Linked DNA regions of Homo sapiens: regions 2, 3, 4 and 5 are each linked to region 1. Evidence: promoter capture Hi-C in human tissues and cell types (Jung and others, 2019). All regions are on one chromosome and are shown on one strand. Each heading gives the region's core, a stretch centred on a gene start or on the middle of the fragment in contact. The rest is flanking DNA. Distances are from core to core; before and after follow the strand shown. Region 1 holds the start of COL6A1 (collagen type VI alpha 1 chain). Region 2 has its middle 11 kb from the start of PRMT2. Region 3 has its middle 25 kb from the start of LINC00316. Region 4 holds the start of COL18A1 (collagen type XVIII alpha 1 chain). Region 5 overlaps PRMT2 (protein arginine methyltransferase 2).

The links. Contacts are between HindIII fragments. The study calls those that stand out against the background at their distance.
Region 2: a contact is called between a fragment that was not itself captured here and the fragment with the promoter of COL6A1 in region 1, in 1 of the 25 tissues and cell types used here (lymphoblastoid cells).
Region 3: a contact is called between a fragment that was not itself captured here and the fragment with the promoter of COL6A1 in region 1, in 2 of the 25 tissues and cell types used here (lymphoblastoid cells and thymus).
Region 4: the fragment with the promoter of COL18A1 here is called in contact with the fragment with the promoter of COL6A1 in region 1 in 2 of the 25 tissues and cell types used here (H1 embryonic stem cells and stomach).
Region 5: a contact is called between a fragment that was not itself captured here and the fragment with the promoter of COL6A1 in region 1, in 1 of the 25 tissues and cell types used here (lymphoblastoid cells).

What each region holds. Positions count from the first base shown.
Region 1 is chr21:45,979,652-45,984,128 of GRCh38, reverse strand. It overlaps COL6A1 (collagen type VI alpha 1 chain), which reads right to left and starts at 2,359. Exons shown (of 35, transcript NM_001848.3): 1 at 2,182-2,359; 2 at 1,366-1,495. The coding sequence starts at 2,278. LOC105372841 (a long non-coding RNA gene) reads right to left here. Exons shown (of 3, transcript XR_937803.3): 2 at 4,277-4,477; 3 at 2,563-2,839. RefSeq lists enhancers at 878-1,738, 1,739-2,601. The HindIII fragment of the contact is 42,283 bases long and covers 1-4,477 here.
Region 2 is chr21:46,622,527-46,626,399 of GRCh38, reverse strand. No RefSeq gene overlaps it. Among named protein-coding and RNA genes, the nearest start is that of PRMT2, 11 kb to the left of the region's middle. RefSeq lists an enhancer at 1,513-2,013. The HindIII fragment of the contact is 7,233 bases long and covers 1-3,873 here.
Region 3 is chr21:45,314,755-45,318,646 of GRCh38, reverse strand. No RefSeq gene overlaps it. Among named protein-coding and RNA genes, the nearest start is that of LINC00316, 25 kb to the left of the region's middle. RefSeq lists an enhancer at 1-123. The HindIII fragment of the contact is 7,844 bases long and covers 1-3,892 here.
Region 4 is chr21:45,402,876-45,407,130 of GRCh38, reverse strand. COL18A1 (collagen type XVIII alpha 1 chain) reads right to left here and starts at 1,966. Exons shown (of 42, transcript NM_001379500.1): 1 at 1,890-1,966; 2 at 1,658-1,752. The coding sequence starts at 1,900. It overlaps BNAT1 (breast cancer associated ESR1 regulating natural antisense transcript 1), which reads left to right and starts at 769. Exons shown (of 2, transcript NR_183526.1): 1 at 769-964; 2 at 2,635-3,325. RefSeq lists an enhancer at 2,111-2,811. The HindIII fragment of the contact is 38,297 bases long and covers 1-4,255 here.
Region 5 is chr21:46,646,280-46,650,596 of GRCh38, reverse strand. PRMT2 (protein arginine methyltransferase 2) reads right to left here. Exons shown (of 12, transcript NM_206962.4): 6 at 1,978-2,139; 7 at 858-1,022. Among named protein-coding and RNA genes, the nearest start is that of PRMT2, 13 kb to the right of the region's middle. The HindIII fragment of the contact is 3,449 bases long and covers 1-3,093 here.

The DNA of each region.
Region 1 (4,477 bases), core at 1,110-3,609:
CCTGAGGCCGGCCCTCCTGGAAGGCTGTGCAGGCGGGTGTGGCCAGCAAGCGACCTGCGCCCCGATCCCTCAGGCCCTCAGACCAGGAGCCCTGAGTGTGTGGCCCTGCTGGGGTGGGGTCCTTGGGCCTGCAGTGGGGCAGCATGACAGTGGGGGAAGGAGGCACCCCGGGGATCTGAGCAGCCCCCTCGCTGCCCTCTGAGCACCTGAGCCTGAGGCTCTCAGGGGTCTGCTCTGCCCCAGCCTGGGGTGGGCCCACCTCTGCCCCACCCACCCTCCCATCCATTCAGCAGAGTGACCACGGCGCCTGCAGGAATCCAGTGGCAGCGACATGGGGATGACTCCGCCCCATTTCACAGGTGGGAAACTGAGTCATGGGGAGACTGAGTAAAGGCAACAAGGGCGACTCGGGGGACGCTGGGCCACGCGGCCGCCCCTCCCCGGTGCCATCCACAGCCAGACCCCCCCCCAAACACTGCCGCACGGGCCTGGCCATGTCCACTAAGCTCAGGGTTCCTGGTACCAATGGCTCCTGCTGGGCACGGTGTGGGCTGGAAGGTCCACCCTGCTGTTACCGGCAGCCTCTGACTGTGCCCCTTCTGGTGGCGGGAGGCTCCGGCCCAGCGGCCAGTCAGCAGGGTCAAGGAGGACGGGGGTTCCTACGCCGGCTAAGCTGTGTCCCCACTGCCAGGACCCGTCTCAGTGGGGGAGCCCCGTTCTACATGCCCCCCCCTCAGCGGCCCTGTGCACCCACAGGACCGACTCCCCTCTCCCCCCGGTCTGTCCTCAGCCACACGCACAGATGGAGGAACGTGGAGCAGAGGGTGCCGTGTCCCAAGCCCAGAACCAAGCCTGGGGGCCCTGGGGCTGCAGAGCGACACCCCTCCTGGCTCCCGAGTCGGGGACCTTCAGAACGTGGGATCCAGGACCCAGGTAGAGGCTCTCACTGCCCACGGAACAAACCAGGGTCCAGGTGGTTAGTGAGGGGCTCCCGCGCACCAGGCAGGACTGCGTGTCTGGGCCAGTGCGCTGAGCCCTCTCGGTCAGCCTGCGGGAGCCTCTCTTCCCTACATCTCAGCCTCACTGTCACCTCGGCCCTGCTGAACAGGTGCCACCCCCGCGAGCAGGGTCTCAAACCAGCTCACTCTGGAAGGCGCTGGGAGAGGCTCAGACCAGCTCACTCTGGAGGGCGCCGGAAAGGGCCCCGGCCTCACTCTGGAGGGCGCCGGGAGGGGCCCCGGTCAGGGCAACGCTCGCCCAACCTTAGGAGGTTGAGGCCGTCGCACCCGTGTTCCCCTGGGCCCCCACCCCTCCCTCCAAGAGGCCCAGAAGCACAGGAGGAAGGTCACGGGGCGTCCCTCCTACCTGTCCCTCAGGTTGTCGATGAAGCGCTTGGTGAAGGACTTGACTTTGTCCACGAGGGCCCCGTAGGGCTTCAGCCTCAGGGCCACGCTCTCAGAGGTGTCCAGCACAAAGAACAGGTCCACGGGGCAGTCTGGCCGAAGATGGAGGAGAGGGGCCTTCAAGCTCTCGCCCCATTCCCCGAGTCTCTGCTGGGCCTGCCCTCCCGGCCAGCCCAGCGCCTGCAGCACAGAGCCCCGGGCCCGGAGAGGCTCTCCCGGGAAAAGGCAGCAGGACGTCCCTCGGTGGGGACGGTGGGGAGGGGGTGGAGTGAGAGACCCCAAACCGCTCCTGTGCCTCGAGGGGAGTCAGAAACCTTCACAACCTCCCCCGAAGGGCAGGGCGTCCCCGGCACGGGACCGGACAAGTGAGACCTCACGGGAAGGTTTCTCGCTGGATTCAGAACCAGCAGCGCACGACTTCTTCTAGAACGGGGGTCGGGGGGGCCGTGCGTCTGGACTCACTGCCAGGTGAGGGGTCAAACGGATTCACGGGGCGCCGAGACAGCCCCGCACCAGCTCCCCCTCGCCAGGGAGCCCCTCCCGAGCTGCCTGCGGTCCGGCCCCGCTGAGAATGCTGAATGCTGAGCCTCTAGGGGCCCCGGCCAAGGCCCGGTGGGGCAGAGCTGGGCGCTGCAGCCGCCCCGAGCGGGGAGTGGGGTTCAGGGGCTCCAGGCCCCCAGTCTGCAGTTCCACGCGTGGGAGGGGACCCCGCGCATCTGGCCCTGGCCGGCAGCAAAGAGCGGGGGGTCTGGAGCCTGCACCCCAAGCCACCACTCACCCTGGAAGGCCACGGCCCTCGGGGTCTCCGGCTCATCCTGCGCGGCTGTCCAGCAGGCCTGCAGCAGCAGGGGCAGCAGAGCACGGGCCGCCCTCATGTCTGGGGCCTGCGGTCACCACACAGCGCGGCCAGGGCAGAGTGGGCCGCCGCCGCCGCCCAGAGACCGAGGCTGCCTTCTGCTCCCAGCCAGAGTGAGAGCGGAGGGCAAGGAGGGGAGGGGCGGGGCGAGAGGGGCGGGAGGGGAGGGGAGGGGCGGGAGGGGAGGGGAGGGGCGGGGCGGGAGGAGAGGGGAGGGGAGGGGAGGGGCGGGAGGAGAGGGGAGGGGCGGGAGGGGAGGGGCGGGGCGGGAGGGGAGGGGCGGGGCGGGGCGGGGAGGAGCGGCCCATGAGTCACCACCTCCTTGCTGGGGTCTCTCCCTCCAGAACCGGCAGCAGCTCCGAGCCCAGGGAGAAGGCGGTTTCCCTGGCTGGCTCGCCGCGGCCTGCAGTTCAGTTCCCGTGTCAGGGAGGAGGAAACTGCAGCAGCTGAATCAAACGTCTGAAAACCAGCGTGTCACCCAGGGAGAGTTCCTTGAAACATCTTTCGGTAGTTTCCAATCCAGACGTCTCCATGCGGGACGCACGGGCAGGCTCACTCGCCTCTTCCCACCAACCGCCTCCTGCAGAGGACCTCGCCGTGAGCTGAATTGTTGCTTTATCAGATCTCCGCGTTCTTTTTTCACGTCAATATTTCTTCACAGTATAGTCGGATACGTATTTGCCAAAGATATTTCAGTTTGTACCGTGGGAAGACAAAGTTGCTCACAATATAGTTGTTATATATGCTGTGTGTGGAGACAGAGAGACAGAGACAGAGAGACAGAGAGAGACAGTGAGAGAGAGACAGAGAGACAGAGACAGAGAGACAGACAGAGACACAGACAGAGGAGAGACAGAGACAGAGAGAGAGACAGAGACAGAGAGAGACAGAGAGACAGAAAGACAGAGAGAGACACAGAGAGACAGAGGAGAGACAGAGACAGAGAGACAGAGACAGAGAGACACAGAGAGACAGAGAGACAGAGAGACAGAGACAGAGAGAGAGACAGTGAGAGACAGAGACAGAGAGACACAGAGACAGAGAGACAGAGAGAGACAGAGACAGTGAGAGAGAGACAGAAAGACAGAGACAGAGAGACAGACACAGAGAGACAGAGGAGAGACAGAGACAGACAGAGAGAGACAGAGACAGAGAGAGACAGAGAGACAGACAGAGAGAGACAGAGAGAGAGACAGAGACAGAGACACAGAGAGAGGAGAGACAGAGAGAGACAAAGACAGAGACAGAGAGACAGAGACAGAGAGAGACAGAGAGGAGAGACAGACAGAGACGGAGAGACAGAGACAGAGAGACAGAGACAGAGAGACAGAAAGAGAGACAGAGAGAGGAGAGAGGGGCTGTCCCTGATATCACCTGGGGGTGGGCTCCAGATGTGGCCAGATGCATCCCTGGCCCACAGAAGGTCCCAGAAGAGCTTTCCCAAAGCTGGAGCTGCTGAGACTTGCCTAACACCAGCCTAAATGTCTTATAATTTTAAAACGTACACAAATTGTTCATACCAAAAACCATGTTAAAGAAACATTTGAAAAAACCTTTAAAATTGATACTTAATTCCACAACTCCACAGTGACTGTTTTTGGATTGCCTTCAATATTTTCCCCACACCTACGTTACAGAAGTTGTAAAGTACTTCTCCTTCTTTTCCTCCTCCTCCTCCTCCTCCTCCTCCTTATTATTATTATTATTATCTAAGGGGCTCACTCTGTCATCCAGGCTGGAACGTAGTGGCCTCATCACAGCTCACTGCAGCCTCAGTCTCCTGGGTTCAGGTGATCCCTCCACCTCAGCCTCCCGAGTAGCTGGGATCACAGGCATGTGCCACCATACCCAGCTAATTTTGTATGTTTTGTAGAGATGGGGGTCTCACGATGTTGCCCAGGCTGGTCTCGAACTCCTGGACTCAAGTGGTCCTCCTGCCTCGGCCTCCGAAAGTGCTGGGATTACAGGCATGAGCCACCGTGCCTGGCCTTGTACACTTACTGTACAGTCAATTTACCTGCCACTGATGTCATCCACACTGTGGCTGTGGGTGCTGAGGTTTGGTGCTGCCTGCTTGGAGCTGTGGCACCAGCCTCTGGGCTCCTGACTCAAGCACAGGGGGCTTCAGGACCTCCGTGTTCTCTTGGCCTCTCCCAGTCTGAGCTGTTTTATCTGCAAGGAGTGCTTGCAGATTTGGGAAAGGAAATAGGAACACGTT
Region 2 (3,873 bases), core at 1,374-3,873, 640 kb before region 1:
GATTTGCTGGGCTCAAAAATGAAACTAATTTTCATCCCCAGTTTCTCCCAGCAGAAGATTCTCAAAGAATGAGAGGGCTCAGGGCAAAGTTGGGACCCACAGCCCTGTAGGGAATATGTGGGTTCAGAGCAGACATGAAGCCAAGAGTGGGATTATAAAACCCTCCATTAAGATGCAGAAAGAGTTCAACTGGTGTCTCACCAGCCTTTTCAGAGGCAAAGGGCCTCCCAGGGATGGTACACATGTGCCTCCCAGGCCCCTATTAAGGAGACCTTCTGGGAATCTTAACAGCATTGTTCCACAACAGCCTCACAGGGAGCCCTGAATAGAAAATGGTCTATTTAAAAGAGATCTGCGGTGCAGGTTTTGTCTAATGGAGTGAACATCAATAAAATTTATAGAAAACCCACAAAGTTATTAAAGGAATTGTACTAGAAAAATAAAAGCAGCCTGTGTTTGTGGTTAAGCAGTCTTCTTAGCCTGTAGAAATTCAGGGGCCCACTGGCCTCCTTTCATTTTGTACTATCTGGTTCTTTTAATCCAAGCTGGCTTTTATTTTCTTCTCAGGTGCCTAGAGAATCAGTCCCTGTAGCAACACTGCACCCTAATCACAGACCTGTTGACCTGGGTCAGGTTGGATTTCAGAATCTCTGCAGACTGCCTGCTTTTTGCCTCAGTTTCCCCCTTCTGAGTGGCAGGGGCCAAGGTGTCTGTCCTATCCCCATCCCCATTAGACATAGGGTGAAGAGGTTGGGCCAGGTGCTTGGCTCTTGAGGTCACAAGTCTGTGGATTGAAAAGGAAACACATCGAAGAGGCTGTGCCTGAGGAGCCGTGCCCATGGAGCCTCACCCCGCATGGAGATGGTTAAGTGGTGAGACCTGGAGCTCTGGCTGCCATAATGGCACGAGACCATGGGTGTCTGGGTGAGTCTATTTTGCATGTGTAGGGGGTGCAGCCAGAGGGCAGAATGTGTTTTCCAAAGTTGGTCATAGCAAGGTCTGCAATCCTCCCCACATGCTCTTCTCTTGCCATTTCATCAGGAAGTGGAGTCTGGCTGGGCATGGTGGCTCATGCCTGTAATCCCAACATTTTGGAAGGCTAAGGCAAGTGGATCGCTTGAGGCCAGGAGTTCGAGCAGCCTGGCCAACATGGTGAAACCCCATCTCTACTAAAATTACAAAAATTAGCCAGGCGTGGCGGTGCATGTCTGTAATCCCAGCTACTCAGGAGATGAGTTACAAGAATCACTTGAACCCTAGAGAAGGAGGCTGCAGTGAGCTGAGATTGCACCACTGCACTCCAGTCTGGACAATAGAGCAAGACTCTGTTTCAAAAACAAAAACAAGCAGAGTCCAAGCACCTCCTTGAGTCAGAGCAGGGCATTTCCTCCTGCTCCGATCCACGACAGCAGCATTTCATGTGGTTGGGACTTGGACTCTGGAGGCAGGCCCAGGTTCAAATCCTGGCTTTGACACTGAGTGATACAACCTGAGCCTCAGTTTCCCCCATCATGATGGAGAAACATGCGTTTCCTATGCAGGCTGAGGCTCCGAAGGCTGCTAAGCTCCTTTCCCTGCTAAGGGGAGGTCCTCATTTATGCCATTGCCCAGGTTTCCTTTGCATGTGACTTATCACACGGTGCTCTGGAGCCCTGTCCTTGGAGACTCACACCCCTGTGACCAGGATGGGGTCAGGGCTGTGCTTAATCAGGTGACTGTCCAAGGAGCCCCCTTCCACCTCCAGAGTTCAGAACTCAGTGTCTTACCTTCCTCCCAGGAACCAGAGCACACTGAACACGCAGGGCCTGGCAGGGCACCTGACGGCCAACATGTTGGGGGGCATTGGAGCACACAAATCAACACTCCAGGGGCAGGAGTGGTTGTCACTTGAGTTGCAAAATCTAGGGACCCTAAAAGAGTCCCTGTGAGGCCTGGCTCCTTGGTGTGCTGAGCAACTGACCCATCCCCCACACTCTCCTACCCAAAGAGGCCTCTGGAGCCTTCCTACGGCCAAGGGACCTGGCCAGCCGCACAGGCTGAGGACAGAGCGAGCTCGGCCAGGGCTCCGTGAACAGCTGTCCTTCTGTGGCCATCATCACAGCAGCAGCAAGTTCAGGGTGGGGCATCAGCACGGGGTGTGCGCTCTCTCATCCTGGGCATCTGAGTTTTTCGTTTTAAAAGTTGTGATCACCAAGACGCTGTCCTTGTCTGCCTCTGCATCTCATGGTCCCCGCTGTGGGGAGGCGCGCAGCCAAGTGGGCCTCGCCTGGGGAAGGGAGGTGCATGCATGCGACTCAGGCAAACACGGCCCCTGGGCCTCGTTCCAGGGAGCCCCAAAGGCAGAGTTCAGAAGATTGCAATTAATTTTCTAAATTAATACACAATAACAGATAATTAATTTTAAATGTTGAACTTAATGTTAGTACATATGTTACAGGAATTACATCAAATTATTTGATTTTATTATGGAGTCTGTCTTAAGTTTTAATTCCAAAAATAGTTTATTCCTCCTATGATTTAAATTTTATTTACATTAGCACTCAATAGAACTACTAGATGCTAAATATACCTGTGGATGTATTCCAGTTACACTAAAAATTGAAATATAGTGCCAGGTTATTCACAGTGTTTTTAACTTGAAGTTTGTTTTTCAAAAGCAAAAGAGGTTATTGTTCTGCAGTAGCAAAACTGCTAGGGATTGAGCTTCCAGATTTTTTAAAATTATATTTATATATTTAGACGGAGTTTCATTCTTGTTGCCCAGGCTGGAGTGCAATGGTGCAGTCTCAGCTCACTGCAACCTCTGCCTCCTGGGTTCAAGCAATTCTCCTGCCTTAGCCTCTCCAGCAGCTGGGATTACAGGCACCTGGCTAATTTTTTTTGTATTTTTAGTAGAGATGGGGTTTTACCGTGTTGGCCAGGCTGGTCTTGAACTCCTAACCTCAGGTGATCTGCCCACCTCGGCCTCCCAAAGTGCTAGGATTACAGGCGTGAGCCACTGTGCCCAACCGAGCGTCCAGATTTTAGGTTCTCAGCTTTCCTCTTCTCTCATACGTTTGGTATGTTCTTTATTTAAATCTCTAAAATAAAACAACTCATTTCCACCTCCTGGGTCGTTGCTGTCGAGGTGGTTCAATTCCACGCAGGCATTTTTACAGTCAAGGCGTGAGCATCCTCACTTGTTAAGTAGAGTTTGTTTGTTTGTTTTTCTTTGTTTTTTTGAGACAGAATCTCTGTGACCCAGGCTGGAGTGCAGTAGCAGGATCTCTGCTCACTGCAACCTCCATATCCCGAGTTCAAGGGATCCTCCTGCCTCAGCCTCCCAAGTAGCTGGGACTACAAGCATGCGCCACCACACCTGGCTAATTTTTGTATTTTTAGTAGAGACAGGGTTTCACAATGTTGCCCAGGCTGGTCTCAAACTCCTGACCTCAAGTGATCCGCCCGCCTCAGCCTTCCAAAGTGCTGGGATTACAGATGTGAGTTAAGCAGTTTGAACAATCGATTGATTAGACTTTTGTGGCTGCTCATTTGGGCATGTGGCCGAGTACTGTGCTGTCCTGGCCCACAGCGTCCTACAGGAAGGGACGGGCTGTAAGACGTGGGATCTTCTGAAGTCGTCAAATGAAAAACACTCCTGTTGAGTGAAAAAACAAATAGGCTAATCCTATGATTTTTTAAACATTTAAACCTGACATGATTTTATTGCAAATTTCCAAGAATCCTTAAAAGTTATAAAAAGCATAATCAAAATAAATATCTGTGACAGAGTTCTACAAAAGGGAAAACTCAGTTTTCCTTTTGAGATCTTGCCCCAGCATCAGTTCAAACACTTCCTCTTATATTTCACCAAGACTCAGTTCCTGAGCAAGA
Region 3 (3,892 bases), core at 93-2,592, 660 kb after region 1:
CCTGGGTGGGGAAAGGCACCCTCCATGTCATGCCCAGTGCATGCAGGGGTCCCCGAGAGGCCTGGGCACCCAGGGACAGCCCCCACCCCAGCCCACCTGGCAGCCACTGCAGGTGACCAGAAGGCTAGTCCCAGGCTGTGGGAAGATGGCCCAGGGCTTGGTGGGGAAGGAACATCAGGGGACGGGGCAGGAAGGGGAATGGAGCCCCTCTGGAGGAGCCTGAAGCCCCTGGGGTGGTGCACGTGGAGTTTCTCAGCCAGAGAAGTGGGGGCCAGAGGAGTGGGGGCAGCCACCCACGTCCTGGAGACGGTGACTGACCTGGAGGTGGTGGGGGGGTTCGATTTTTCATGAGTGGAGGAGCTTGGGGCTCCCCAAGCGCATGTCGGGGGGCACTTCCTGGTTCCTTGGCCTCTGGCCTGTGGGTGCCCAGCCCCTAGGACCAGCCTGGAGGTAACATCCAAATGGGGTGGGATTCCCTGAAGGCCACAGGGACCCCCTCACAAGCCTTCTCCCAAGTACCCCCACCCTGGACCCTCTGAGCTGGCCTGAAGTGGGGGTCTTGGGGTGACCGTCTCAGCCCCTCCTCACGTCCCCAACTCCAGGCTGAGCCAGGCGTGGCCTCCTCCACCGTGGCCTCCTCTGCCATGGGTGCTGAGATTGCCCTGCTTCCTCCCACCCTGTTTCTTCTTGAGATTGGGGTGGGCGGCCTGGCTGGGGACACTTGAGGTCACCCCCGGGCCCCCAAGGCCAATCACGGCAGGACTAGGCGTCCTAAGAGGAGGCGGAGTGGGGATCTGCTCACCAAAGCCACAGAAGAGGATCCCAGGCTAACCCGGGTCCTTGCAGACCGATGGGAATCCATGAAGTCAAACAGGGTGAATTTCTAAGACAAAAGCTGGTGTTGTTTATTTTTTGTGACTGAGTCACTCTTCCCAGCCTCTTCCCAGGATGGAGATGCCAGCATTGTTTCTCGCCCCCTCGCCTCTTTCATGTGTGTCCTCAATGCCCCAGTGAGAAAGGGAGGGACAGACAACAAGCTCAGGTCCCAGCCCCCACCCCACCTACATGCCCATTTCTGCAGCTGTCGGAAGCTGCAGTGCAAGTTCCACGCTAGTGGCTGGTGCTGTGAAGGTACCACGGCCAGGAAGTGAGGTCCCAGAAGCAGCCTGGGCACCCCTGGGCGCTGGGTAGAAATGCAGAGTCCCAGGCTCCAGCCCAGACCTGCTGAGTCAGAATCTGCATTTTAACAAGAGCCGGGGTTCCAGGCCCCTGTTGAGGAGCACTCAGGGGGCTTCCATTGGCCCCAGCTCTAAAGAAGTCGTGCGGCCCGGCCCGTGTACAGGTATGACCATTTGGCCAAGGCTGCCCTTCTCAAAGACCTGGGCGGCACCCTTAGACGGCTTCTTAGAGGCCTGGGTGGGCCCCCCCCCCACACCAGGGTCCGGGTGGGCCAGGGCACCTGCATTCCTACAGCACCAAGGGTGCCCAGGCTGCTGGTTGGGGCACACTTTGAGCCGCTCCCGGGCGTAAGACAGTAAACTCCACCCACAGGAGCTTTTGGCTGCATTTGGGCTAAGGATGGTTTGCACGTGTTTAAATGCTTGGAGAAAAATACAAAGAAAAACATGGACAGAGCAGAGTGGGTGCACGGACCATGTGGCCGCAAAGCTTAAATCCATTACTTTCCAGGCCTCGACAGAGCTGGCTGGTCCCTGCTCTGAGTAACAGAGAAAGTAAAAGAGCCCCCCTAAGAGAGCCGGTTCCCTTTGATAACCACAGCCCCTCACGCCCCGGCCTCCCCCACCTCCCCCGCCTCCGGAGATCACACTCGCGTGCCACTGATGCCTGGTGCCTTCACACTTTCCACCTTTGCCAGGATTTTCTCTGGCTACTATAAGCTGAGCATTCTTTAGCATCTATCATTCCCATGTCCACCACTGGCCTTCTGACTTGGTTTCTGGGGTCTTTGGTGATAAAGTTGTGTTAGCTTCTGCTGCAGTCCACTTTATCTTCTCCTCCTCTGCTCCACGTGGGGCTGCGTCTTTGTTTGGGAGAGTTGCTATTCTAAGGTCCGTGTTCTCCTCTAATATCTTTTTAAGTTCCGGTGTATATGTGCAGGTGTGTTACATGGGTAAACATGTCCCATGGTGGTTTGCCGCACCTATCAACCCATCACCTAGGTATGAAGCCCAGCACACATTAGCTCTTTTCCCTAATGCTCTCCACCCCCACCCTCCCCCAACAGGACCTGGTGTGTGTTGTTCTCCACCCTGTGTCCGTATGTTTTCATTGTTCAGCTCCCACTTATAAGTGAACATGCGGTGTTTGGTTTTCTGTTCCTTTGTTAGTTTGCAGAGGATAATGGCTTTCAGCTTCATCCATGTCCCTGCAAAGGACGTGATCTCGTTCCTTTTTATAGCTGCATAGTATTCCATGGTCTATATGTACCACATTTTCTTTATCCAGTCTATCACTGATGGGCATTTGGGTTGATTCCATGTCTTTGCTATTGTGAATAGTGCTGCAGTGAACATACGTGTGCATGTATCTTTATAATAATTTATATTCCTTTGGGTATATACCCAGTTATGGGATAGCTTCTCAAATGGTATTTCTGGTTCTCAATCTTGGAGGAATCACCACACTGTCTTCCACAATGGTTGAACTAATTTACATTCCCACCGGCAGTGTAAAAGTGTTCCTATTTCTCCACAGCCTTGCCAGCATGTGCTGTTTCCTGACTTTTTCATAATTACCATTCTGACTGGCATGAGAACTCATTGTGGTTTTGATTTGCATTTCTCTAATGACCAGCGATGTTAAGCCTTTTTTCATGCATTTGTTGGCTGCATGTATGTCTTTTTTTGAGAAGTGTCTGTTCATATCCTTTGTGCACTTTTTAATGGGGTTGTTTGTTTTTCTCTTGTAAATTTGCTTAAGTTCCTTGTAGATTCTAAGTGTTAAACCTTTGTCAGACAAACAGATTGCAAAAAATGTTCTCCCATTCTGTAGGTTGTCTGTTCACTCTAATGATAGTTTCGTTTGCTGTGCAGAAGCTCTTTAGTTTATTTAGATCCCATTTGTCAGTTTTTGCTTTTGTTGCCATTGCTTTTGGCATTTTCATCATAAAATCTTTGCCTGTGCCCATGTCCTGAATGGCATTGCCTAGATTTTCTTCTAGGGTTTTTATAGTTTTGGGTTTTACATTTAAGGCTTTAATCCACTTTGAGTTAATTTTTGCATAAGGTGTAAGGAAGGTGTCCAGTTTCAATTTTCTGCATATGGCTAGCCAGTTCTCCCAGCACCATTTATTAACTAGGAAATCCTTTCCCCATTGCGTGTTTTTGTTTGGCTTGTCGAAGACCAGATGGTTGTAGACATATGGTGTTATTTCTGAGTTCTCTATTCTGTTCCATTGGTCTATGTGTCTGTTTTTGTACCAGTACCATGCTGTTTTGGTTACTGTGGCCTTGTAGTATATTTTGAAGTCAGGTAGCATGATGCCTCCAGCTTTGTTATTTTTGCTTAAGATTGTCTTAGCTATGAGAGCTCTTTTTTGGTTCCGTATGGATTTTTAAATAGTTTTTTCTAATTCTGTGAAGAATGTCAATGGTAGTTTAATGGGAATAGCATTGAATCTATAAATTGCTTTGAGCAGTATGGCCATTTTCATAACATTGATTCTTTCTATCCATGAGCGTGGAATGTTTTTCCATCTGCTTGTGTCCTCTCTGGTTTCCTTGAGCAGCAGTTTGTAGTTCTCCTTGAACAGGTCCTTCACTTCCCTTGTTAGCTGTATTCATAGTTATTTTGAACTCTATGCAAATAAACTGGAAAATCTAGAAGAAATGGATAAATTCCTGGGCACATACATCCTCCCAAGACTGAACCA
Region 4 (4,255 bases), core at 717-3,216, 580 kb after region 1:
GCTGCGGGTGGCCTGGAGCCTGAGTTCTCTCCGGGCTGGGGGAGGGGTGTGTGGGCAGCATGCAGACCCCTCTCTGGGCCTGCTTCCGCTTCAGCCTCCTGGCCACCCGCCTTCCACATTCCATTAGACACCTCCAAGGGGCCTTCCTGCCCCAGAGTGCTTGAGGCTGGGGCAGGCCCGGGACAGAAGAGGAACGCACAGCCCATTTGGCCAACCGTAACTTTCCCTGCTGAGGCCTGCACTGACTTTACACCCCACTCTTAGATCTCAAGATTGCATCTCACCAAAGCTCGCGTTAACAGTTTTTGTTTTTTCTATTCAAAGGCAAAAAAACCATCACCTTTTACATCTCCTCCTTGATAACGTTTCATAAGCTCGGGCTTGGGCCCCAGCGTCTTTCCTTTCCTTTGTCCCTGTGCGATTTAAAACATCCCGCCCAGGGAGCCCTGGTCTGGGCCCTGTGGGCGCTGGCGGCCCGGCTCAGAGGGCAGCTCTGCGGCCTGATTAATGGCCCCGAGTGACCCTGGGCCGCTGTGGGGATGGAGCCGCGTGAGCTCACAGCCGCTCTCCGCCCGTGTTTCACCCCCTAGAGTTCACACAGTAAATGAGGAATTGTCTACGACTCAACAAGCAGGTGTTTTCAATACATCTACTTATAAGCTAGCTACTTTTTTGAAAGGTCTATGCTACTATTTAACCTGGTGACTAAGTCGATTGGAAACAATGAAACAAATTATTACAGGAATCCAGACGACATCCCTCCCTCCCCCTTTCCTGCTTCCTCACCCGCTGTAGCAAGCAGGTGTGGAGTCGAGTCGGAGGCAGGCGCTGGCTGCGTGGACCCCCGGGTGGGATTCCACCCGCGACAAGGCACCCAGGCCCTTTGGGCGGGGCTCCCCTGGGGTCCGCGTCCCCGCCGCCTCCCCCGGGCCTCTGCTGGGCTGGCTGGAGGCAGGAGGCCCCGGTTAGCAGGTGGTGGGGAACTGGGTCCCGGGGTTGGAGGCAGGAAGGTCCCCACGGGCCCCGCGCACCGTTTGCCGCGCACGGGAAGCGGCGAGGCCGGCGGGGCAGCGGCTTCTGGGCATTGTTCTCGGACCGCGCGGCGCTCGGTTGGCATCAAAGGGGACCGCGCAACCCGACACCACGGCGGGCGCGGGGACAGAGGCCTGAGGGCGGCGGGGACAGAGGCGCACAAGGCCCGGCCCGCGGCGAGGAGCCTCAACAGGTTGGAAACGCGGAGACGACGCCCCGCGCTCCGCCGCCTTCCGCCCGCGGTCAGTCCCGGGACCCGGCGCTGCGGGGACGAGGCCGTGACGGCGACAGAGGCCGCGTCTCCCGAGACCCCGCGGCCCCGCCCCGAGCCCTCCCGGCACCGACGACCCCGCCGGCCGCGGAGGTTCGGTCCCCGCGCGGGGACTCCGGCCGCTCGCACCGCGCACCCCTCCCGGCCCGGACCCCGCGGGGAGAATGAATGGGCGGGACTCCGGCCACCCCGCCCCGCTCCGTCCGGCTCCGGCGCCTCCTGCGCGCGTGGGCAGGGCCGGGGCTGAACCCAGAGCGGCCGGGGCGGGGGTGAGGGAGCCGGGCGGGGACCCCAGCCAGGGCGGCGAGGCCGGCGGGCACCGGCGCGAACCTTCCCGTCCCGCCCGGGTCTTACCTGGCTCCGCGGAGGCCGCGCGGACCCCGAGCAGCAGGACCAGGGGCGCGAGCACGTCCAGGAGGCGCCGCCGCCGCGGCCATGGCCAGGGGCACCTGCGCGGGACAGGCACGGGTCAGACCCCGCAGGACCCCCGCGACCCCCGCAGGACCCGGCCGAGCCCCGCGACCCCCGCGACCCCCGCAGCCGCATCTTGGCGTCCCCCAACCCCTGCCCGCAGCCCCGGCCTCACCTCGGCGCCATGCTCTCCCCAGGACCGTCAGCGCCGCGGGATGCTGCCTCCTCCGCCGCGGTGCACCCGCTCGGACCGCCGCGCTGCAGCCGCCGCCGCTGGGAGGCCGGGCAGGGGGCGGGCAGGGGCCGGGCAGGGGCCGGGCAGGGGGCGGGGCGGGCGCGGGCAGGGGGCGGGCGCGGGGCGGGGCCGGGCAGGGGCCGGGCAGGGGGCGGAGCGACGAGCAGGGCAAGGCCCGGGGAGGGGAGAGGGGGGCGGGCGCCGCAGCGGACCTGCGGCTGCGAGGACGGGGCGGGCCGGGACCCGGGGGCGGCGGGGACGGGCGAGGACGGACGGGGACACGTCCCGCCCCGAGGGAACCGCCCGAGGCTGCGACCCAGCACAGGGCCCGGGGGCTGCCCCGCGAGGAAGCCCAGGTTTATGCGGAAGGTGAACACCGCTGCCCGCCGGGCTACGACCCCAGCCCCTGAGTCCGGTGGGGCAGCGGGAAGGGGGGAGATTTGAATAGAGTCACCGCGGGGGGGACGGGACGGAGGAGGAAGCCGGCACCTCCGGCCCGCAAGGCCCCTGCAGGGTCCTGCCCCGGCTGCACGGAGGGACGGACGCGAGACAGGAGGGGCGTGCGAGGGCCAGATCTGTCCCCAGGTCCCCCTGTTCCCAGGGCGCGGCCCAGCAGAGCCTCTTCCTCCCCAGTTCCCAGGCTCCTCCTCCCTCCCAGGTGAAAACCCTGTTTCTATTTCTTCAGGGCCAGCATCCTGAGCCCCACCTGCAGGCCCTGGGCGCTTTCCTCCTGGCAGCTGTGCCCCCACCCGACCGGACCGCTCCCTGCAACCAGAGAGCCCTCACACCAGCAACACCCCCCAGCCTGCTCCCTCCTCGTGTGCGCGAAACTCATGGCACTGGCTTGACGGCTTTCTCTGAAACCCTCTGATTCCGCCTGGCCCATCCACACTGTCCCTTCCCGGCCAGGGCTCATCTCCTATGCCTGGACCAAACAGCGTAGTCTCCAGTCTCCCTGATCTCCCCACACGTGGCCCCACCCATCCTCTGAAGCAGCCCCAGGAGGCAGCAGTGACTTCACACTTCTAGTGCCCGGCCCTCCCGGCCCTCCTCTCTGGGCTTGCTTGCCAGGGTCCTCCCAACCTGACTGCTGCCTCCCACCTCCTCTCCGCCCCTGGAGCTCTCCAGCCGCAGCCGCGGGGCCTGCTTGGGATTCTCCTCTGCTGGCATCATCCCTGCCTGCCTCAGCCTTCCCAGGCCCAATCCTGCCCGATCTCACCTCTTCCCGCCCAGCCACCTGGTCGGGTCCCGACCAGCATCTGCCTTCAAACCTGGAGTCCTTCCCTGAGTGCTTGCGGTGCACTGTGAGGAAGGAAATCAATGTAAAGGATTATGACCCACATTTTTTAAAAATAAAAAGATTAAGGAGAACAGCATAGAGTAGAAGTGGTCATCGCACACTTCTGCAAAACTTTTGTTTCTCAGGTGGATGGAGGAGTGAGTCTGTGTGTGTCTATCAGGGTTTGGTGGTGTCTCTGCAGTGCAGTGGGTGTGTCTGTGTGTCTGCTGTGTGTGTGTCTGTGACCGTACCTTGTGTGCATGTGTGTGCATGTCTCTCTGTGCTGTGTGTGTGCATGTGTGTGTTTCTGTAACTATGTACAGTGTGTGCATGTGTGTCAGCCTGTGTGCGTGTGAGTGTGTGTCAGGGGTGTTCATGTGTCCTGGGTCCTGGTGGCTTCTCCTCCCGAGGCTCCTGGTCTGTCTGGCCCCTGTCCATTAACCCTGCAGTGCAGGTCTCTTTCACCTCTTCCATCTCACCTGCCCTGGGGCACCACTTCCACCCAACCCAACCCATTCCTAAGTCTTCCGTCAGGGCAGGTGCCTGCTGCCAGGGGAAGCAGGTCTCTGCAGGTGTGGCCTGATGCACTGCCCTGGGGGCCTGTCTGCGGCTCCCAGGAGGGAGGGGCTGGGGCAGGGCGGGTGCCAGCCCACCTGTGGCCTGAGTTGGCCTACCTCTCTCCTGCCCCACTCTCCACCTTTGGGGACTATGGGGGTGTGATCAGTAGGAGACACAGCTACTATGAAACACATGTGACTGCTTACCTGGTAGCTGTACGAACTCTTTTTGCTCATTCGTTTCACTTGGGGCCTTACCTTGGCCTCATGGCTGTGTCCCCATAGGCTCTGTAGCATCCCCTCTTTCTATTAGAGTTGTATTGTTTCCTTTGTAGACACGAGTAATATGTGATAACCACAGAAAAATCAACAGAAAATGCAGAAACACACGTAGAAAATAAGACCAAAAGTCTCTCCATTCGCCTTACCTCCTCCCGGGCCCTTCTGCACAGACGCCTGCAGGTGCTCTG
Region 5 (4,317 bases), core at 120-2,619, 670 kb before region 1:
AGGAGTGGAGCCCGTTTCTCCTGTGTGTCATCTTATGGCTCCACAGATGTTATTAATAAGCCAAGTCACAGCATGGACATTGAGTCTATTTACATTTATCTTCTGACAACAAAATTTCAACAGGACTAAAAGCCCAATGCCATCTGTTACCAGGGGAAACCGTTTCCTGGAAAGCAGCAGCCATACTCCACACTCCTTCACCCAGACCCCATCTTTCTGGGTCTCTACACTGAGACAAAGTTTCAGGTTGGGATGCTCCACTACAATGTCCTGTGTCCCAGGATGCTGAGCCCAGGAAGACAGCGCGGGCAGACAGCATCCAGCCACACTCCCGTCAACTTCCCTCCAAGCAGACAGCGTTTGTGCAGGGCATATTCACAGGCAACCAGAAAACAGTCCACTTCCACCCACATGTGAAACTCAGGGTGAGCAACCCTGACAGGACAGGCATATGCTGGCCCTACAGATGCCCAAGTGGCTTCACAGCATCACTGGGGCCAGTCTAAGGCGAGGAGACCCTGGCCAGGGACGAAGGCCCTACTGGCATTAAAGAAACAGCCTTACCTGTTAGGCACAGGATTTTTACAGATCCCCGAGGAGAACACAGTTCATGTAAATCACTCATGAAAATGTTACATGAACTTTGACTTAAATTTCTCATAAAGGCATTTTTTAAATCAGGTGAAAATTCAAGACACTGAGCCAATGTCCACACAAGAAATTAATTAGACCTCACATTAGGGAAAACATCAAAATGAATCACGCACGACCCTTGAGATCCTGAGGTTGGCCCAGCCGAGCCCGTGCTCAGAAGCCCCCCAGCTCCGGCCCCCAGCTGCCCGCACGCCCGCCCTCACCAGCAGGCAGGTCCCCATCCACTCAGACACCAGCACGTCCACCTTCTCGGGCAGCACCACATCCTCCACCTTCTGCTGGTACACGGTGATGATGTCAGCAAAGCCGTTCTGCAGGACCAGCTGCCCCGTGTGCTGTGCCATCTCACTGGCCTCCACCGCGTACACCTGCAGCAGCAGAGGCACCGTCAGCGTACATCCGGCCGGCACACGGCCCGTCATCTACTCTCCTGAGTCACAACCAGCATCACGAGAAATGGTCAATGACACAAGAGGGAAGCAGCATTCCAGACAGCAGAGGCAGCGAGGACTGGCCACACCTGCCCCTCCAGGGGCACCCAGAAAGGAGCCGCCTCTAACCCTCCCAACTGCCCCCACCTCCCGGACAAGACACAGACGCAGGGCTGCAAGTGGATGGAAGACTCGCATGCCCGAGCCGGCTGCCACACGCACAGCAATCTTAATCCATGACCAGCACAGCAACTTCTTAGCACCCAAGTGACAATGCTGGTCTGTGCCACATCTGAGGCCTGTCAGACAATTTCAAACCCAGGTTCTCAGGGAAGGGTCTGGTGGGAAGCACCCAAGCGCTGGGTCCTGGGTCCTGCAGAGCCTGGACTTGGGTGGACACTGTGCTGCGACCCCACCCACTGTGTAAGGAGTCTCCAAGGCTGCAGCTCGGCTCAGCTCAGCACAGTATAGACGGCCTAAGAGGGGTGGGGAGGGGGCCCAGCGTGTGCATCCCTCCCAACCCCATGAGACCAACCACACCCAAGGCCCAGCACAGACATGTGGGTGCACGTGTTTCTCTACTCAACTGAAATAAACGTCTCACAGAACATACCCCGCCCCACGCAATTCACGGGATATTGTCTATTCTGCCCTACTCCCGTCTGTGCTGTCTGCGACTCATTGTACGCGGGCGCCACGGCCTCTAGCACGCGGTCTCCACGCACTGCTATTTTACCGACCCTGAGCCCCACGTGCAGGGTGCTCAACAAGACCATGGAGTCACCGGTGAGCCCCCAACAGCTCAGGGTCACAAGTCAGCACACTCAGAGGCCACCTCGGACGTCACCAGCCTCGGCACAAACACCCGGGATGCGCTCGAGACCCCACTCACCGCTCTAGGCCGCGCATAGTGTGCACAGAAGAGACTGATGATCCCAGTCCCACAGCCCACGTCCAGGATGACTTTATCCGTCAGGGATTCTTTATTCTGCAGGATGACACTGTGGTATTTAGTTGTTCGTGGCTGGTCTGCCAACATCTCCAAGTGGAGTTTCTGGAAGAAATGCACATTCAGAATCACTGCCTGTGACCTAGAGCCATGCTGAGGTCTGGACTGAGATGGAGGGTCAGAGCCACAGCTGATGACCCCTGACCCCAACACCCCTATGGAAGACTATGGAAGGCCTGGACATCACTGTCAACCAAGTTAATCTCATTGGTATTTAGAGAACACTTCACCCACCCCCTTATAACAGTAATAATACACAAAAAATACCTAGGAACAAATTTAACAAGAAAGGTGCACAACCATGTATGACAAAGAGATATTGTCCTTATCTTAAAATACTAAGAGATATTAAACAAAGCTTAAGTAATCAGAGACTGAGAGTCAATGTTATAAAGATGTCAGCTCTCCCAAAATTAACATAAACATTCCATGCAGTACCTACTAAAGGAGAAAGCACAACAAAATGATAATAAAATTAGTTTCAAAACAGTAAGTGCCCAAGGCTAATGAGGAAAATGCTTTAAAAAAAAAAGAACTGCTGGAGACCTAGCTCTTGCAGATCCTACAAAGGTGCAGTGATGGAAATGACGAAGCACTGGGAACTGCAGTAAACAGACCAGTGAAACAACAGGAATTCTACAGCAGACCCCTGAAATCCAGAGCAGGACAAACGCACCGTTTCACATCAACGCGAAGGGAACTGTCCAGTAACTGAGGCTGGGGTCGCTGGAGATTTGTGGGCATACATTAGGGCGGAATTTTACATTATATTTTTTACAACAAATAATTTCTAGATTTTTTATTATTTAAAATCTCATTGTTTAAAATAGAATCAGAAGGCCAGGCAGGGTGCCTCACCCCTGTAATCCCAGTACTTTGGGAAGCTAAGGTGAAGGTCCCTTAAACCCAGGAGTTTGAGGATACAGTGCACTATGACTGCACCACCGCACTCCAGCCACTCATACGACAGAGTGTGACACCATCTCTAAAAAACATAAAAAACAAAAATAAAATAACACAGAATCATAACAGTTCTGAAAACAAAAGTGTGGGTATTTATAATCTTATAGTGAGGAAGGTTTTTCACAAAGAAAAGAAAAAGAAGTCACAAAGAAAAGAAAACCATATTAGGCTATACAAAGAAAAAAGTTGTACGTGGGAAAAAATTTCACAAAGTCACAAAACTTCACAAATTCAGGCTAAATTACTTAACACACGAATCAACAAAAATCAAAAGGGGCAAATAATATGAAAGTTTACAAAAAAAGAAAAAATACAAAAGGCCCATAAACACATAAAAGATAATCAATCTTACTTAAAAAATGGAAATCAAAACTAAAAGATGCCATATTTAACTTTTAAGATCAAAGTCCTTTTTCACTTTGATTTGTGGTAGGGAAATGAGCTTTCACACACCATCATGCCACGGTCTGAAATGTCTCCAAAAATCCATGTACTGAAACTTAATCGTCAGTGTGATGGCATTAAGAGGCCACCTTTGGAGGTTACTATGAAAGGGTTTGTGGTGAAAGAGGTGCTCCCAGCCCTCCCGCCTTCACCACGTGAGGACAGCCATGAGGCGCCATCTTGGACACCAATGCCAATGCCTTCCCAGCCTCCAGAACTGCGAGAAACAAAGCTTTGTTCTTCATAATTCACTCAGTCTAAGGTATTTTGTTACAGCAGCACAAACAGACCAAGTGTATAATTAGCAAATCTTTCTGGAGGGCGAACTGGCAAGATCCACTTAAGGAAACCACATGTACACACTACACACACACACCCCGTAGGAATTTACCCTATAGAAATTCTAAACAGCATTTAACAGGATTATACAGGACTCCATTACAGCATTATTTATCATGATAAAAAGCTATTAAATAACCACTGTCCAAATATCAACAGGACCCTTTTAAAGTAACACAACGCTCTGCAGCTGTTATAAAGAGTGACAGGTGCCAATATGAGAGATCTTCAAAATACTACAGCTACGTGAAAAGAGCAAGGTGAAGACCTGAGTGGTGGAACAATGCCTTTTCTATACATTAAAAACGTAAAATACATTAGGTGTCACTTGGACTTCATAAGCACAGAGGAATCTGGTGGGCAGTGGTTCTTTGAGCTGAGAGGCGGCAGAGGTGGGAGGCTGGAATTGGCTTTTCATTATGTATCTTTCCTTAACGGATAGAAATCACTAACCATGTACAGACATGAATAGTTTTT